2 separate regions of the Homo sapiens genome follow, and region 1 is linked to region 2. The links are contacts of gene promoters, found by promoter capture Hi-C in blood cells and fetal thymus (Javierre and others, 2016). All regions are on one chromosome and are shown on one strand. The core of a region is centred on a gene start or on the middle of the fragment in contact, and the rest is flanking DNA. Distances in the headings are between cores, read along the strand shown. Region 1 overlaps PHEX (phosphate regulating endopeptidase X-linked). Region 2 holds the start of PHEX (phosphate regulating endopeptidase X-linked).

Region 1 (2,979 bases), core at 275-2,774, 150 kb after region 2:
CATTCCATTTATCTATTGCTGTGTGATAAACCTCCCCCAAATTTAGAGTACTGAAACAACAGTCATTATTTTTCTCTCTCATGGTTCTGGGGGTCACTAGGCTCAGCTGCATGGTTCTCGTTTGTGGTTTTTTTTTTTTTTTTTGGACACAGAGTCTCACTCTGTCACCAGGCTGGAGTACATTGGCGTGATCTCGGCTCACTGCAACCTCCGTCTCCCAGGTTCAAGCGATTCTCCTGCCTCAGCCTCCTGAGTAGCTGAGATTACAGGTGCCCGCCACCACGCTGAGCTAATTTTTGTAGTTTTAGTACAGACAGCATTTCACCATGTTGGCCAGGCTGGTTTCGAACTCCTGACTTCAGGTGATCTGCCCACCTCAGCCTCCCAAAGTGCTGGGATTACAGGCATGAGCCACTGCACCTGACCATTTGTGGTCTTTCATGTAGTTACAGTCAGATAGTGGCTGGGGCTAGAGTCATATGGAAGGCTACCTCTCTCACATGTCTAATGGTTGATGCTGACTGTTGACTAGAACATCTACATATGGCCTCTTCATGTATGTTGGGTTTCCTTACAGCATGTTGATTGATATAGAAAGTTCAAAGAGCAGCTTTTCTGAGAAAGAAGAAGGGAGGGAGGGTGTGTTTGTATGCATCAGGGGGAAGTTGTATCACCTTTAATTACCTAGCCTTGGAAGTCACACTGTCATTTCTGCTGCGTATTATTCTTTAGAAGTGAGTCACTAAGGCTAACCCATAATCAAGGGGAGAGGAATTTAGATTCCATCTCTTAATGGGAGGAGTGTAAAAAAGTTCACAAACACATATTAAAACTAGCACATGTAGCCTTACATTAGAGAATAGTAAAACTAAATATATAATAAACTTGGATGTAATACGGGAGATATACAAAATGTTTAACAGCTGGTTTGGCATGGGCCCTGAACAAATAGAAGAAATAACAGCATCAACAACTGGTAGGATCTACTGGTGCAGCTGCTTAATATCAGCTCTGGGTATTATCAAGTCTCCATACGTGCCCTAGAGTCAATAAGAGCCCTGGGAGGTCAGGAATGGTAAGATCATGTGTCTGAAATAAGATGTTTTCGTTATTCTTGTTGAAGCTTCAGAAGCCCCATTAAGGTCTAGTTTCAGAGACTGGTTGTTTGGTTTGCTTTGTCTACCTTTGTCTACCAGCAGTTAGGAACATTTTCCCTGCATGGCCCTTACCTGAATATTTTAAAAGTTTGTTATTTTAAAGAGAGGGGAGTTGGGAAGAACAAAAAGAGAAGGGACAAGCTCTAGGAATACACGTTATCTTTTGTATGTATTATGATTCATTCCAGTGTTATTTAGAAGCCAAGGCACCCACCTGGATTTTCCCCTCTTGACCTACAAATGTTGGGTTCTTTGGATAGTGCATTAGTTTCCTATTGCTACTGTAACAAACTCCTACAACCTAAGCAGCTTAAAACAGCACAGATTTATTATCTCACAGTTCTCTAGCTCAGAAGTCTAGGGTAGCTTGGTTGTTTTCTCTGCTTTGGATTTCATAAGGCTGAAATCAGAGTGTCAGCCGGCTGGGCTCTTATGGGGAGGTTCTGGGAATAATCCCCTTCCAAGGGGATTCAAGTTGTTGGCAGAATCCAGTTCTTTCTGATTGTAGGGGTAAGGTCTTTACTTCCTTGCTGGCTATCGCCTGGAAGCCACTCTTTGTTCTCAGAGGGATTTATGCAGTCCTTGCCCATTGCCCCTACATCTTAGAGCCAGCAGCGTGTCAAATCCTTCTTACCCTTCCTCCTCTCCGACTTCCTCCTCTGTTGCATCTCTCTGATTCCAGCCAAACAAGGTTGTCTGCTTTTAAGGGCTTGTGATTAGATTGAGCCTACCTGAATAATCCAGGATAATCTCTCTATTTTAAGGTCCTTAAGCTTAATTACACCTGCAAAGTCCTTCTTACTATGTAATGTAACATGTTCATAGGATCCAGGGATTAGGACTTGGCCATAATTTTACCTACTACAGGTAGCCAAGTTAGGTCAATAGAGGTGCTTTCCCCTTCACTTGTTTCCTCAGGAAAGTAGGCCAACCAGCAAGTTTATGTTAAACACTAGGGCTTAATTGAAATACCCTAAATTTGAAGGAAAAGAATATGCATTTTATGGAAATATGTCTAGGTTTCGGTTTTGAAGAGAGAAGAGGTGCTCTTTCTTGATTTCCAGTAATGTCTACAGTATAATATAATGCTTAGGCGAACTGGTTTGAAGTCAGACAGACCAGGCCTCGTACAAGCACATAATGCTCATAAATCTCATTATCCTCGTCTGTGAAATGGGCTAATAATTCCTATGTTGCCATGGGGAAAAACTGATGAATAGAAGGTGCTTAGGACATAGTAAGTGCTCAATGAATGTTAGCTAAATATAATGATAATGATAACAGAATGACATATTCATAGACTTCTTTGTAGCTGGGGAGAAGGTATGAGTTTACCAACTAGTATCAATAATTGGGTTTCCTATTAGTTTCATATTAACCTGATATAAATTAATTTGTTAGTCTGACATAATTATCCTATTAGACGTAAATGAGTAATACAATTATTCTAGAAAGGGATTTATACAAGTTTTTTTTTTCTTTTTAATTTTTTTAGAGACTGGAACTTCTGGGCTCAGGCAGTCCTCCTGCCTCAGCCTCCCAAGTAGCTGGAACTATATTTGCATGCCACTGCTGGGCCTAGGAGTTTATTTTTAGCAATTTTGCTTAAGATGAATTGCTTGGTTTTAATCATAACAAGCAGTCACTGAAACTCACAACCATCTAAGTCAGGGTTTGGCCACTATGGCCTGTGGGCCAAATCTCACCTGCTGCCTGTTTTTGTGTGGCCCATGAGCTAAGAATAATTTTTAGAGATAAATGTTTGCAGGTGGTTTGATGATGGGGAAGCCCTAACTTTGTTCTGTTTTTTGTTTTTGTTTTT
Region 2 (3,160 bases), core at 136-2,635:
TGCTCTCCTTTTCACTGTGAAGGGCCAGGAAATGTCGATGTTGGAGCTGCAACATTGAACATGGTTCCTGACTTTGTGGAACTCATGGTCTAAGATGTGTTCTAGAGTGAGGTCCAAAAACTCTTGGGAGAATCCCATACTAGGGGCCAAAGTCCTGCTAGGGTGTGTTATGGAATAACAGCAACAAAATAATGTCAACAGCCAATGAGCACAGGATAACTACAACACACCATGATGTCATAACTTGGACAAAGGCTTGTGACCCCCTGACTTTGGCGCAACATGAAATGAGCAGAAAGTAAGGTATATTATGGAATAAGCCCCAAAACTTGAGAGAATCCCATGCTAAGGGCTTAAGCCCTGACCAAGACAAGCCAGACAGGACCATGAATGTGTGGCCATGTTATACTGAGCTCATCAGCACCTGCTGAGCTCCTGTGTCACCTCTAAAGCCATGCGCACAAGTTTTGCATTGAGATAATTGCTCTACTGGTTTCTAGATATAGTTGAATTCTCCACCCCCACTCCCACTGCCCTATGACCTCCAGCAAAACAAAAGCAGGTAGGTAGTAATTGTGTTGTGAGTTAACGATATCTATATCTTTGGATAATAAAATCTATATCATTTCAGTGGTAGCATTGGAATATCAGTTGCCCTTCCCCATGAAGAAAGCACATTGTTATCGTTTAAATCATTATCATAATCAAAAATATCAAAGACCCAGTCATTCATCAGTCTTTCCAGTGAAGTCAACTGCCTTTGTTTTTTGTTTGTTTATTTTTGAGACAGGGTCTCTCTCTCTGTCACCCAGGTTAGAGTGCAGTGGCGCGATCTGGCTCACTGCAACCTCCACCTCCCAGGCTCAAGCGATTCTCCCACCTCTGCCTCCTGAGTAGCTGGGAATACAGGTGCTCACCAACATGCCCGGCTAATTTTTGTGTTTTTAGTACAAACAAGGTTTCGCCTTGTTGGCCAGGCTGGTCTCGAACTCCTGGCCTCAAGCGAGCCCCCTGCCTCAGCCTCCCAAAGTGCTGGGATTACAGGCGTGGGCCACTACGCCCGGCCTGAAACCAATTGCCTTTGAATTCATCCTGGGGAATCTGCTGAAGTGGACAGTTTATGTAAACACAAAAACATCCTAATGAATGGCTGCCTCAGTAGGAGTGGCAGACAAAACACATGGTGCACTTTTCATCAAAAACACACAAGGAAAAAATTTTTCATCATATCTTTTGTAGTTGCTAATAAACTTAATTCACGCACTTGTGTTTTTTTGTGGGTTTTTTTTTTTGTACACTTCTTAGTACCACAAAGAGGAAGTGCTTTTTCTCCTTCCTTTAAGAAAAAGTTCCAGTTCAAACCATCAGCCTCTGTAGGTTGTCTTAATTGCTACTTTGCACTGCACTGGACTATGACTGATTTTTGGCACATGCTATCATACACAAAGTTCCTGAAATAAAATGCTCCAGGATATCCTAGGAACTCTTAGAAGGCTTTAAAAAGGGACTCACACACTGAAAGAATATCTTTGATGAAGACAATTCAGGCAAGCAGAATGATTCTTGCAACAGAATTACATGATTAATTGAGATCTTGAAGTGGGTCCGGTGAATCCTGGCCACCTAACTTATCATGATTTGGGGGAGTTTCACGAGAATCCAGTTTTGATAAAACAATTGTTTTTTTCCTCCCCAAGTGACTATACATTTAAATAGCTAAAACATCTGTTCAGCAACATAGTAAAACATATATACTCGGAACGCTTGAGAGAAGAGCCTGCCAAACAGGGACTTTGCTGAGGGAGAGCACCAAGATAAAGCAACACTGTTTGTTTTGTCTAGTCAGGGGGAAAGCCAAGGCAACCAATATTTTGGTTTTTATAATTTTCATTTGTGAAGAATTATTTGAGAAAGGGTGGCGAGGGGAGATTTCCTGACGGCAGTTTCTTAAGCTGTCCATTAGTAGAAGAGCAAGAAAGCCTTGGATGTCAACGCCTCGCTCTTGAGACCAGCCACCAAACCACGAAAAGTGACTTTCTTCTCGTGTGCTCTCTACGGCCCTTCTGATGGAAGCAGAAACAGGGAGCAGCGTGGAGACTGGAAAGAAGGCCAACAGAGGCACTCGAATTGCCCTGGTCGTGTTTGTCGGTGGCACCCTAGTTCTGGGCACGATCCTCTTTCTAGGTAAGTGGAGTGCAGGAGGCCGGGGGAACTGGGTGTGTGTCGAGAAGTTTCCTTGTGCTTTATTGTAGCAAAACTTGTCATAACACAGGTATAGGGCTGTTTGCCTGCGTTCATAGGTGGTGTATCTTTAGTTTCTATCAAATATGCAAATGATAAAGAAGGCTTTTTTAAGGAGCCTAAATAAATAAATACACCCAAGTACCAAATGTATAGTCCAGAAGGCAAAGTGGGTGTAAGTGGCTTCGAGTGGCTGGCTGATTCTGTTGCATTGGGTGGAAAATTTTTTATGTGGTACATTTAGCAAAATGAGTGTTTGTGAATTCATAGTCACATAGTTTCATTTATATTTTGAGGAAAGACTTTACATTGTGATGAAAACCATGCTGGAGTGTCTTTCCATTTGACTTTTATTAATGTTTGCTTGAACGAATCATGAAATTTAATTCACAAAACACAAATCAGTCCTTTAAAGTGTGCTTTTAATGATATTCTTCAATTCCTTTCTTATCCAGTGACTCTGGTGAGATGCAATTTGATTTACAAATTAATATGAAGGAAAACAGAGGTTTTCCCCCAAGATTTGAAAGATATTGTGATTCAGTTATTTTAATGACTGTTGGTGAGAATGATGTACCCAGAGAGTATATAGGATGATAGAAGTGTATTCCCATGAAAAAGAATCAAATATCTTGGAAAGGAGTGAGGGATTTTCTAAAATTCTAGGCTTTCTGAACCCTTGACTATTACCGTTTTAATTTTTCTCATACAACCCATAATACTTCATTAACTTGAACGTTACATAGGAACGAGGAGATTCTAGGTGCAGTTTGAAATGTAGCAAACCTGCAGGAGGCCATGTTTATTTTGGCAGGGGTAAACCAGTAATTAAACTTTAAAAGAGTTAGGGTTGTGTGGTTGAAAACTGCTAAAATGAGCAAACCATCTTTCCACGCTTTCTGTGGCTGAAGATTTAGGA

What was found. Contacts are between HindIII fragments. The CHiCAGO score rates a contact against its expected background, and 5 or more counts as called.
Region 1: a contact is called between a fragment that was not itself captured here and the fragment with the promoter of PHEX in region 2, in 1 of 17 cell types (neutrophils). The highest score is 5.9, in neutrophils.

What each region holds. Positions count from the first base shown.
Region 1 is chrX:22,185,630-22,188,608 of GRCh38, forward strand. All of the region lies in intron 14 of PHEX (phosphate regulating endopeptidase X-linked), which reads left to right. Among named protein-coding and RNA genes, the nearest start is that of PHEX-AS1, 14 kb to the left of the region's middle. The HindIII fragment of the contact is 807 bases long and covers 1,122-1,928 here.
Region 2 is chrX:22,030,940-22,034,099 of GRCh38, forward strand. It overlaps PHEX (phosphate regulating endopeptidase X-linked), which reads left to right and starts at 1,386. Exons shown (of 22, transcript NM_000444.6): 1 at 1,386-2,184. The coding sequence starts at 2,067. The HindIII fragment of the contact is 6,886 bases long and covers 1-3,160 here.